Linked DNA regions of Homo sapiens: regions 1 and 3 are each linked to region 2. Evidence: promoter capture Hi-C in 16 types of primary human blood cells and fetal thymus (Javierre and others, 2016). All regions are on one chromosome and are shown on one strand. Each heading gives the region's core, a stretch centred on a gene start or on the middle of the fragment in contact. The rest is flanking DNA. Distances are from core to core; before and after follow the strand shown. Region 1 overlaps RNF212B (ring finger protein 212B). Region 2 holds the start of MYH6 (myosin heavy chain 6). Region 3 holds the start of LOC105370406 (a long non-coding RNA gene).

Region 1 (3,918 bases), core at 243-2,742, 160 kb after region 2:
ACCAAACTGTACTCTGACCACCTTGGGCACATGTCGTCTGAACCTTCTGAGGCGCATGTCCTCAATCTTGGCAAAATAAACTTTCTAAATTAACTGAGACTTGTCTCAGATTTTCCGGGTTTACAGTAGCTTATCACAGTCTAGTAGAAGAGACATTCTGACACATGAACTAATAAGTAAAACACTAGGTTATACGCAGAACACAAGTACTTACAAGATATAGAGATAATGATTAAGAGGTAATTATTAATTCAGTCTTTTTTTTTTTTTTTGAGACAGAGTCTCGCTCTGTCACCCAGGCTGGAGTGCAGTGGCACATTCTAGGCTCACTGCAACCTCTGCCTCCCAGGTTCAAGCAATTCTCATGCCTCAGCCTCCCAAGCAGCTGGCATTACAGGCACGCGCCACCATGACACCTGGCTAATTTTTTGTATTTTTAGTAGAGACAGGGTTTTACCATATTGGCCAGGCTGATCTTGAACCCCTGACCTCAAGTGATCCACCCCCTCAGCCTCCAAAAGTGCTGGGATTAGAGGCGTGAGCCACCACGGCTGGCCTAACTTAGTTTTTAAAGTGTAGAAATCAGGCATTTCAGGTATAAAGGTATGAAAGTATATGGTCTGTAAAAGAACTGCAAAGAACTGAATCTGCCTAATAGATTAGGTAATAAATAACCTTACGTAATAACTTGTGTTTGTACATGAGAGGTGAGATGGTAGTTGTGATTGAAATTGGAGAGGTTAGGAGGAACCAGAACGTTAAGGTAACTATGTATCACTCTGAGCAGTCTGAAACTTAAGTGATAGGAAGCCACCAAAGGATTTTGAAAAGGCAGTTACTTGTTCAGATTTGTAATTGAAATAGATTATCGTGACGGTTCAGAGGGAACAGATTTGAGGAAAAAAGAACCCTAAAAATGCTTTCTTAGCAAAAGCAATTGGAGAATTGTTAGTAAGATGTCTGAAGTACCCACTCTGGATGAGAGCCACAGCAGCCCACCAGGCAGAGGGTTATGTTTTGGGTTGCACAGTTTGTATGATCAAAGGAATACTACCTCACACTGGCCTAAGGTTCCTCAATCCCCTGCTCAGTAGTGATGAAGAATTCAACTACACTGTTTCAGAAGTCCTAAATACTGAAAGCTTTTCCTTTTTAGGTAAAATAATATCAAACTAAATACAACTTTTCTTCAAAAGCACCATTGAGTATCTCTTTTTAATTTTTTATTTTTACACAAGCTGGAGTATGGTGGTGCAATCATGGCTCACTGCAGCCTCAACCTCTTGGGATCAAGCAATTCTCCCACCTCAGCCTCCTGAGTAGCTGGACTACAGGTGTGTGCCACCATGCCCAGCTAATTTTTAAATTTTTTGTAGTGAAGGGGTTTCACTATGTTGCCCAAGCTAGTCTCAAACCCCTGGCCTCAAGCAATCCTCCCACCTTGGCCTCCAAAGTGGTATGAACCACTGCGCCTGGCCCACTGAGTACCTCAGTTGTTCAAATTCTTAATTCAGCTGAGGGATGGAGAAGCTCTGGTCTATTGATGAGATCAAATCTTGACCTGATTTTATTCCAACAGTATATGTAGCAATTATGTATGTATATATTAGTAAAAACATATGACTTCAAAAATCTTTTAAAAACCATAAAATAGACCAAGGGTCAGCAAACAACTGACCATAACCAGCTGTCTGTTTTTGTAAATAAGTTTTATTGGAACATAATTACACACATTTGCTTACATGCTGTCTGTGGCTGCTTACATGCTGTCTATGGCTGCTTCCATGCTACAACAGCAGAGTTGGGTAGCAGCATCGGAAATTGTATGGCCTGCAAAGCTTAAAATATTTACTGGCCTGCTGTGGTCTGAATATTTGTGTCCCACAAAAATTCATTTGTTGACACTCAACTCCCAATGCAATAGTATTAAGAGATGGAGGCTTTAGGAGGTGATTATGTCATGAAGGCTTTGCTCTTGTGAATGGGATTAGTGTCCTTATAAAAAGAGGCTTGGGGGCCGGGCGTGATGGCTCATGCCCATAATCTCAGCACTTTGGGAGGCTGAGGTGGGCGGATCACGAGGTCAGGAATTCGAGACTAGCCTGACCAACACGGTGAAACCCCATCTCTATTAAAAATACAAAAATTAGCCAGGTGTGGTGGCGCATGCCCGTAATCCCAGCTACTCAGGAGGTGGAGGCAGGATAATTGCTTGAACCCGGGAGGCGGAGATTGCAGTGAGCCGAGATCGTGCCACTGCACTCCAGTCTGGGCGACAGAGCAAGACTCTGTCTCAAAAAAAAAAAAAAAAAAAGAGGCTTGGGGTTGGGCGTGGTGGCTCATGCCTGTAATTGCAGCACTTTGGGAGGCTGAGGCGGGCAGATTGCGTGAGCCCAGGGGTTCGAGACCTGGGCAACATGGTAAAACCCTGTATCTATTAAAAAAAAAAAAACACAAAAACTAGCCAGGTGTGGTGACATGTGCTTGTAGTCCCAGCTACCTGGGAGGGTGAGGTGAGAGGATCGCCTGAGCTCAAGAGGGCAAGGCTGCAGGGAGCCATGATTGCACCACTGGCCACAACCACACCACTGCACTCCAGCCTTTGTGACAGAGTGAGACCCTGTCTCAAAAAACTAAATAAAAAGAGGCTTGAAGGAGCCTGTTTGCCACTTTTGCCATGTGAGGATGCAGCAAGAAGGCATTATCTTGGAAGCAAAGAGTAAGCCCTCCCCCGACACTGAATCTGTTAGTGCCTTGATGTTGAACTTCCCAGCCTCCAGAACTGTTAAAATTAAATTTCTGTTATTTAGAAATTGCCCAGTCTAAGGTATTTTATTATAGCAGCCCAGACAGACTAAAAGAGCTGCTAAGGATGTAAAATGGTACAGCCACTTGGGAAAACAGTCTGGCAGTTCCTAAAAAAGTTAAATATAGAGTTACCATTTGACCCAGAAATTCCACTCGTAGGTATATACCCAAGAGGAATAAAAATATATGTCCATGTAAAAACTTGTACATAAATGTTCCATAGCAATATTACTTATAATAGCCCCAAAGTAGGAACAACCCAAATGTCTATTGACTAATGAATGGATAAGTAAAATGTATATCCATTTATATAATAGATTATTATTTGGCCATAAAATGGAATGAAATACTAATAAAGTCCTAACAGAGATGCTACAACATGGATGAAACTTGAGAGCATTATACTTAGTGAATGCAGCAAGTCACAAAAGACCATACATTATATGATTCCATATTTATGAAATGCCCTGAACAGGAAAAACCATAGCAACAGAAAGTAAATTAGTGATCGCCTGGGGATGGGGAGGGTGGGAAGGGTTTGGGAAGTGCCTGCCGATAAGTACAGAGCTTCTTTCTGGGGTGATGAAAATGTTTGAAAATTAGGCAGTAGTGTTTGCACAATTCTGTGGATGTATTAAAAACCACTGAATTGCATACTTTAAAAGGGTAAATTTTATGGTATGTAAATTACATCTCAATAAAGCTGTTATTAAAAAAGAAGGTGATTGCATGAAAACTAGTGGACCTAAAAAAAAAAGTAGATGGGGTGTTTATACTTCCCCTTGAAAACAATTTTTTTTTTTTTTGAGATGGAGTTTTGCTCGTGTTGCCCAGGCTGGAGTGCAATGGTGCGATCTTGGCTCACCGCAGTCTCCACCTCCCAGGTTCAAGTGATTCTCCTGCCTCAGCCTCCCGAGTAGCTGGGATTAAAGGCACGTGCCACCACACCTGGCTAATTTTTTATTTTTAGTAGAGACGGGGTTTCTCCATGTTGGTCAGGCTGGTCTCGAACCCCGGACCTCAGGTGATCCACCCACCGTGGCCTTCAAAAGTGCTGGGATTACAGGCGTGAGCCACCACACCCGGCCAACAATTTTTTAAAATACAAAC
Region 2 (4,022 bases), core at 873-3,372:
GAGAAGGAGCCTGGGGAAGGGAGAGGACGGTACAGCGGAGCAGACGGGCAGGGCCTGGGGCTGAGTGAACACCTTCCTTCCTCCTCCTTCCACAGGAGCGGGGGACTACCCCCCACCACCTCCACTCCCCGCTGCCCTGCCACCACCACCTATACCAAGTGAGGCCTGCTCAGAGCACAGGGTTCCCTGAGGACAAAGCCTGGTCTTTGTCACCTGACCCCGACCCAGACTGACCTGGCGTTCTCAGCTCCTTATCATGTCCCCAGAGCTATGGGAACCAAGCAGTGACGCACTGGCCATGGGCTAACCCCCCGGCTCGAATTCTGGGGCCTCGAGTAACCTAGAGCTGGGGACAGGTGGCCTGCATCCCCTGGGGGTAATGATTTGGCATAAGCACCTGCAGAAGATGGGGATGTGGGGTCAACTAAGGTCCCTCCAAGGACATTGAGAAAAGGTCCAAATGCTCTGGAAAGAGAGGTGTGTTCCTGAGCCCAGGAATGGGGTGGCAGCGTCCTAGGGAGCTAGGGGAGAGGCCACATCTTAATGGAAAGTGCTCCTACCCAGAGAAGCTGACCCCTGTCGTCCTACCCACCTCCACACCCTGGAGCTATATTGAGAGGTGACAGTAAACTGGTGGGAGGGGGGCTGGGAGGGTGTTCCTGGGTGTGAGGGTGGGGGGAAGGCCAGAGCAGGGGAGTCTGGCTTTGTTTCCTGAACACAATGTCCACTTAGTCATAACAGGAACAGCCTGCTGAAGACCTGACACCTACAGCCTCTGAGAGATGGCAGCATTGGAGGATGGGGAGCGGGGCCTTGAGGGCCTAGGGTGCTTGAGGACACCCACAAAGAAGGGAATGTGAGTATAAGCCCTGGAGGGCTTGGAAAGGGGCAACAAAATTCTGCCTGGGGAGGGGGCAGGTGGCAGAGCCCCACCCCGATGGAATGCAGTGCCTGGGGACCAGATGGTGTAAATCCCCAGGCCTGCCAGGCACCTGCACCCTCTGGCAGCCCGGTGAGGCAGAAGGGGACAGCCCCTCACCCACCCCCCTCCTCTCTCAGGCCCTAGGATTAGCACCATCTTCTTCTGCCCACCCCACCCCAGGAGCAGAGGGTAGCAGGGGAGGGCAAAAGCCTATGTGTGCAAATGCGGATGTGCAAATGTGTGCATCCATGTACACAAAAGAAAGTAGAAAAGAAATCTGCAAGCTTGAGTGGGTAAGTGTGAAAAATCTGCATGTGTGGCTGAAGATGGGCACAGACACGGTCAAGTCTGTATGTGAGAGTGCTGAACTGGGGTTCTGTGTGAAAATCTGCCTGAGGCGGCAGGGAGAATCACTGCCATTGCGTGAGCAGGTTGGATGTTGGCCACTCTATCAGGAGCATTAGGGAAGGGGTGGGGACTCCAGACGTGTCCCCAAACCAGGGTGGCCTCAAGACCTTGGGAGAACACTTGTCTGAAGACTTGGGGAACAGAAGGAGACCAGGCATGGCACTTATGCAGACTGAGGCCAGGACAGAATTTCCTGACAAAAGAAAACTGAGCCATGGAGATGGACAACAGATCCCTTCCCTGGGCACCATACTGCAGCTTTTAGTCCCTAGCACTGGGGGCTCCAGTACTAACAGCAGGAAGATGCTCCCAGCCTGGGACTGTGTGAGGGAGGTCAGAATGGGAAGGAGAGGCTGGGGAACAGGGGAGGAAAGCCCATGGTTGGGAGGCGGAGGACAGGCATTTGGCCTGCAGGAGAAGGTGACCCTCACCCATGTTTTCAGTTCACCCTTCGGGTTAAAAATAACTGAGGTAAGGGCCATGGCAGGGTGGGAGAGGCGGTGTGAGAAGGTCCTGTCTTCCCACTATCTGCTCATCAGCCCTTTGAAGGGGAGGAATGTGCCCAAGGACTAAAAAAAGGCCGTGGAGCCAGAGAGGCTGGGGCAGCAGACCTTTCTTGGGCAAATCAGGGGGCCCTGCTGTCCTCCTGTCACCTCCAGAGCCAAAGGATCAAAGGAGGAGGAGCCAGGAGGGGAGAGAGGTGGGAGGGAGGGTCCCTCCGGAAGGACTCCAAATTTAGACAGAGGGTGGGGGAAACGGGATATAAAGGAACTGGAGCTTTGAGGACAGATAGAGAGACTCCTGCGGCCCAGGTAAGAGGAGGTTTGGGGTGGGATGCCCTGCAGCCCGTCCACAGAGCCCCCACCGTGAGGGACCTCCTTCACCAGGAGTGGGGTGCAGGTCAGTTGGAGGCCTAAGGGCTCTATTAAAACTGCCTATCTCCAGGCCCAGGGAAGTTCCCCCTGACACAAGGAGGTTCCACAGGAAACCCAGAAACCTCTTTTCTCCTTCTCTGACTCTCCATTTCTTTCTCTGCATCATTCTGAGTCTCCTACATGTTGTCTCCATCTTTCCATCTTCCTTCCTCCTTTGGATGGCTTCCTTCCCTTGATCCTGGTTTTATCTTGCCTCTTGGTCTTCATCGACACTTGTCACAATCATGCTTCTTTGTCTCTCTCCCTTGTCCTTCCTTCTTGGCACGTGTTCTCACCTCCCTGCCTCTCTGCTTCTAACCCTGTTTCCACACCCCGTCCCTCGCACTCATATTGACTCGGTGCCCTTTCTTTTCTGCCTCTGCGTCTTTCCCTTTCTGACTCCCTGGTCTGTCCTGCCTGTCTGCGCTCTGGGGCTGCCTCCATCCCCGGGTGGCCTGCCTCTGTTGTTCTTCACTCTCCTCATCTGTTCTTCTCTCTGCCCGGCTCTACCTCTGTTGTTCCTTGCTCCACCCACGGTCCAGATTCTTCAGGATTCTCCGTGAAGGGATAACCAGGTGAGAACTGCCCCCATTTTCTCTGCAGAGACTGGGGCATGCTTCTCCTGGGAGCCGGATTGCTGGACCAGGGGTCTGCTGTCCCAAGCACTCAGCGCCAACCCTTAGCATACTCCAGCCAATGCCACCCCAGGGAAACCCCTTACAGAGATTGTCCTTCAGCATCACCTCAGAGGGCAGGAGAAGCAGAGCCCTGAGTAGGGGAGGGTGCAACAGCAGGTGCCTCTCCCAGGGTGGAGGAGAGGAGCGGGGGTAGGGAGGGGGGCTGCAGAGGACAAAGCCACTCGCTGGAGCCTGGGCTCCCTCAGGAGTAACATAGCCCTCCTGTCTCTGACCCAGGGGAAGCACCAAGATGACCGATGCCCAGATGGCTGACTTTGGGGCAGCGGCCCAGTACCTCCGCAAGTCAGAGAAGGAGCGTCTAGAGGCCCAGACCCGGCCCTTTGACATTCGCACTGAGTGCTTCGTGCCCGATGACAAGGAAGAGTTTGTCAAAGCCAAGATTTTGTCCCGGGAGGGAGGCAAGGTCATTGCTGAAACCGAGAATGGGAAGGTGAGTAGGGCATGGCGCCGGGGCAGAAGGGAAGGAGGTCTGGGAAAGAAGATGCAGAGGTGGAGCCACTTGCAGGGGGAGCTGAGAGGGCTGGAGAAAAGCCAAGGCCAGTGGGGATGCCAGGACATGCTCCTTTGAGGAGCCCAGAATCTGATCCCTCTCAAATTGACCTGAGCTGGTGCAACAGGTGCCACCCAGGGCCATGTTCCCCCTGCCAGAGAGGATGCTGAGGAAGAAGAACCTCAGTGTTCGCCTAAGAGGGGTCTTGTAGATAAAGAGGGCACAGACACAGCATTAAATGATGCCCCCTTCTTGCACTTGTATCCCTCTTCCCTGTGCCTCAGTTTCCTCCATGAGTCCACTTTCTCAAATTCCGTTCACCCAAATCAAGAGTAATTCTTAGACCCAGATGAACACAAAGATCAGAAACTTTTGAGCTGAGCACTCTCCTTGACTGGCACTCAGAAGCTCTGGTCCCTGGTTTGCTCACACCAGCCAAGAGAATCACCCCTGGTTACCAGCTGCGGCTCAGGGCTGTGTGCCTCATGAACTCGTTGACTGAATGTTACAACCCATTGAAGTGTAGAATAACAGGCCACAATCCCCTGGGGCTTTTGACTCTGATCCCAGCTCTGCCACCCGCTAGTCAC
Region 3 (4,516 bases), core at 626-3,125, 190 kb after region 2:
CAGGCAGAGGAGCCCCCCCCCCACCACTGCCACCACTGCCACCACTGGTCTATGGTGGTTCTGCCAGGCCACTGCTGATGTTAACTTAAAACCCAGGAGCTTCTCTGTCAGCTTGTGGTGAATTCTGCCAGGCCTAAGACTCACCCTTCAGGGCAGGGGGCTCCACTCTGGTCCATAGCAGGTTCAGAAATGCTGTCCAAGAGCCTAGGCCTGGACTCAGGGACCCCGGGAACCTTCTTGTTGCTTTACCCTTCTGTGCCTGTCCCCATTCTTAACATCTGTCAGTCACTAATCTGCTCTCCAGTTCTATAATTTTATCATTTAAAATGTTGTATAAGTGGAATCATACAATCTGTAACCTTTGAGATTGGTCTTTTTTTTTTTTTTTTTTTTTTTTTGAGACAGGGTCACATTCAGTCACCCACACTAGGATGCAGTAGGGCAATCTCAGCTCACTGCAACCTCTGTTCCCCAGGCTTGAGCAATCTTTCCACCTCAGCTTCCCAAGTAGCTGAGACCACAGATGCATGCCACCACATCCAGCTAAGTTTTGGATTTTTGGTAGAGATGGGGTTTCACCATGTTGCCCAAGCTTGTCTTGAACTCCTAAGCTCAAGCAATCTGCCTACCTTGGCCTCCCAAAGTGCTGGGATTACAGGCGTGAGCCACCACACCCAGCCAGATTGGCCTTATTATTTTTTTTTTTTTTTACTTAGCATAATTTATTTGTTTGGAAATTGTGCTCGGTCATGTTTGTTTTTTAATCTGTTCTGTCGACGTCTATCTTTTGATTGATACAGTTAAACCATTTAAATTTAATGTACTTATTGATATGTTAGGGATTAAGTATGCTATTTGATTCTTTGTTTTCTGTATGTTCCTCTGTTTTTTTATTCCTCTGTTTCACTTCTTTTTGCTTTTTTGTAGGTTACTTGAACATTGTTTAGAATTGCATTTTTATTTATTTATAATGTTTTGGAATGTATCATCTTGTATAGATTTTGTTTTGTTTTGTTTTGTTTTTGTTTTTTTGAAATGGAGTCTCGCTCTGTCACCCAGGCTGGAGTGCAGTGGCACGATCTTGACTCACTGCAAGCTCCGCCTCCCAGGTTCACGCCATTCTCCTGCCTCAGCCTCCAGAGTAGCTGGGACTACAGGCACCCGCCACCACACTCAGCTAATTTTTTTTATTTTTAGTAGAGATGGGGGTTTCACCGTGTTAGCCAGGATGGTCTCGATCTCCTGATCTCGTGATCCGCCCGCCTTGGCCTCCCAAAGTGCTGGGATTACAGGCATGAGCCACCACACCCGGCAAATGTTTTAATGGTTGCTCTAGAGATTACATTATACATGCATAAAATAACTCAGTCTAGTGGTGTCAATGTAATTCAATATGAAACATAATTAGATAACTCACTAAGAATGGATAAGGACTAGGAGAAGGATAGTCAACATTTACCCATGTTTTTACTCTTTCTGTTGTTCTTTTTTCACTAATTGTGTTCCATGTGTCTTTCGTTTATCATTTCCTTTCTGTTTGAAAAATTTTCATTAGCCATTCTTTTAGGGTACATCTGCTCATGACCCCTTTTCTTAGTTTTCCTTCATTTGGGAATGTCTTGAGTTCACCTTATTCCTAAAGAATATTTTTGCTGGGTATAGAATTCTGGATGGACAGTTCCTTTCTTTCAGCACTTGAAGAATGTTGTGCAGTTTTCTTTGGGCATTGATGATTTCTGTTTGTTTGTGTGTGTGTTTGTTTGTTTGTTTAAAGATACAGAGTCTTGCTCTGTCACCCAGGCTAGAATGCTGTGACACAATCATGTCTCATTGTAAGCTCAAATTCCTGGGTTTAAGAATTGATGGTTTCTAAGGAGAAATACACTGTCATTTGAATCTTTGTTTCTCCATAGGAAACTGTATTAGTCTGTCTTGATGCTGCTATAAAGAACTGGGAAATTTATAAAGAAAAGAGATTTAATTGACTCACAGTTCTGCACGGCTAGGGAGGACTCAGGAAACTTACAATCATGGCAAAAAATGAAGGAGAAGCAAGGCACACCTTACATGACAACAGGAGAGGCAGAGGGGTGGGGGGAACTGCCAAACACTTTTAAACCATCATGTCTCATGAGAACTCACTCACCATCATGAGAACAGTATGGGGGAAACTGCCCGCATGATCCAATCACCTCCCACCAGGTCCCTCCCTCAACACATTGGAATTACAATTCAATTCAAGATGAGATTTGTGTGGGGACACAGAGCCAAATCATATCAGTAATGTATCATTCCTCTCTAGCTATCAAGACTTTGTCTTTATTTTTTTCTGAAAATTATTAGTGTTAATTATGATATGTCTTGGCATGGATTTATTTGGGTTTATTCTTCTTGAAGTTCACTCAGCTTTTTGAATTTGTGGCCTTATTTCTTTCAACAGATTTGGAAAGGTTTCAGCCATTATTTCTTCTAATATGTTTTCATTTTTTCTCCTCTTTTTCTCCTCTTTTTCTGGGACTACAATGACACAAATGTTAAATCTGATTTCTGAAGTCCTGACATTAGTTATGCCCGTTTTCTCTCTATTTTGATTATTATTATTATTATTTTATCTTCAAGTTCACTGACTTTCCTATGCTTTATTCATTCTGTTATTGATCCTATCCAATGAAGTTTAAACATTTTTTTGGTTATATTATTCAGGTCTGAGGTTTCTATTTGGTTGTCCTTTTTTTAAATTAAATTAATTTAATTTTAAAATTTTAATTTAATTTAATTATTGGGGGGACTGAGTCTCACTCTGTTGCCCAGGCCGGAGTACATTGGCGCAATTTGGGCTCACCGCAACCTCCACCTCCTGGGTTCAAGCGATTCTCCTGACTCAGCCTCCCAAGTAGCTGAGATTACAGGCATGTACCACCATGCCCAGCTAACTTTTGTATTTTTAGTAGAGACGGGGTTTCACTATGTTGGCCAGGCTGGTCTCAGACTCCTGACCTCAAATGATCCACCTGCCTTGGCCTCCCAAAATGCTGGGATTACAGGCTTGAGCCGCCATGCCCAGCCTTAGTTTTTCTTTGTATCTTCTATTTCTTTGCTGAGACTTTCTACTTTAAAAAAATTTTATAAGTGTTTTTGTAATTGTTTATTGAAGCTTTTTTAAAAAAGATACAGAGTCTCACTATGTTGCCTATGGATTACATTACAGCACACTACAACCTCGAACTCCTGGGCTCAAGTGATCCTCCTGTGCTAGCCTCTCAAGCAGCTAGGACTACAGGTACACCCAATTCATTGAAGCACTTTTTATGGTGGCTCCTTTAAAATCCTTGTTAGATAAGGCTAACATCTATGTAACACTGAAATGTTAGTGCCTGTTGACTGTTGGGGTTTTTTCCATTTAAACTGAGATTTTCCTGGTTCTTGTATGATGAGTGCTTTTTGATTATATACTAAGCATTTTGAGTATTATTTTGTGAGGCTGAATCATTTTCTCTCTCTGCCTCTCTTTCTCTCTCTCTACCTCTCTTCCTCACTTCTTCTCTCTCTTTCTTTCTTCATTTGGCATGCAGTCACCCTGTTTAGGTAGAGCACACAGTTCCTAAAAGTGGTAAATGTTCAGCTCCCCACTGGGTCCCACTGACACCTTTCCAGGAAAAGCTGAGCACTGACTCCCACCACCTTCTTGCTGCCGAGTCGGGGTGGAAGTTTAGCTCTCTGCAGTGATTTGCTGATACCCAGAGGGACAGGAGAATGTGGATGAATTGTCTCAATACTTCTTCTTTCCGCCTCATGACTCCTGGTGGAATTTTTATTGGAAATGCATTGAATCTATAGATCAAATTGGGAAAAATTGACTTCTTAACAATATTGAGTCTTCCATCTCATGAACAAAGTATATCTCTTCATTTATTTAGGTCTTCTTTAATTTCTCTCAGTAACGTTTTATAATTTTTTTTTTTTTTAAGACGGAGTCTTACTCTGTCGCCCAGGCTGGAGTGCAGTGGTGCGATCTCGGCTCACTGCAAGCTCCGCCTCACGGGTTCACGCCATTCTCCTGCCTCAGCCTCCCGAGTAGCTGGGACTACAGGCGCCTGCCACCACGCCCGGCTAATTTTTTGTATTTTTTAGTAGAGACGGGGTTTCACTGTGTTAGCCAGGATGGTCTCGATCTCCTGACCTTGTGATATGCCCACCTCGGCCTCCCAAAGTGCTGGGATTACAGGCATAACCCACCATGCCCGGCCTGTGTTATAATTTTTAGTGTACAGGTCTTTTACATGTTTTATCAGATTTATCCCTAATAATTTTATATTTGCTGATATTATCATAAATGATAATGTCTGAAATCTACTATTAGGCTGGCAAAAAAGAAATTACTTCAAAAAATTGTAAAAAGAAATAAAGTAAATAATTTTAGAAAAATAAACAAAAACTAAAAAGTGGTATTGTCTTTTAGAATTTAAATTTCTGGCTGGGCATGGTGAATCACACCTGTAATCCCAGCACTTTGGGA

Evidence for each region. The method cuts DNA at HindIII sites, captures the fragments that hold promoters and counts their contacts. A CHiCAGO score of 5 or more calls a contact.
Region 1: a fragment that was not itself captured here is called in contact with the fragment with the promoter of MYH6 in region 2 in 1 of 17 cell types (naive CD4 T cells); the score reaches 6.1 in naive CD4 T cells.
Region 3: a fragment that was not itself captured here is called in contact with the fragment with the promoter of MYH6 in region 2 in 1 of 17 cell types (naive CD4 T cells); the score reaches 5.1 in naive CD4 T cells.

What each region holds. Positions count from the first base shown.
Region 1 is chr14:23,246,837-23,250,754 of GRCh38, reverse strand. The region is part of intron 4 of RNF212B (ring finger protein 212B); the gene reads right to left. Among named protein-coding and RNA genes, the nearest start is that of RNF212B, 11 kb to the right of the region's middle. The HindIII fragment of the contact is 696 bases long and covers 1,145-1,840 here.
Region 2 is chr14:23,406,373-23,410,394 of GRCh38, reverse strand. MYH6 (myosin heavy chain 6) reads left to right here and starts at 2,122. Exons shown (of 39, transcript NM_002471.4): 1 at 2,122-2,142; 2 at 2,787-2,819; 3 at 3,159-3,372. The coding sequence starts at 3,172. RefSeq lists enhancers at 2,769-3,269, 952-4,022. The HindIII fragment of the contact is 15,953 bases long and covers 1,209-4,022 here.
Region 3 is chr14:23,212,762-23,217,277 of GRCh38, reverse strand. LOC105370406 (a long non-coding RNA gene) reads left to right here and starts at 3,186. Exons shown (of 4, transcript XR_943606.3): 1 at 3,186-3,280. It also overlaps a transcript of RNF212B not described here. The HindIII fragment of the contact is 2,562 bases long and covers 595-3,156 here.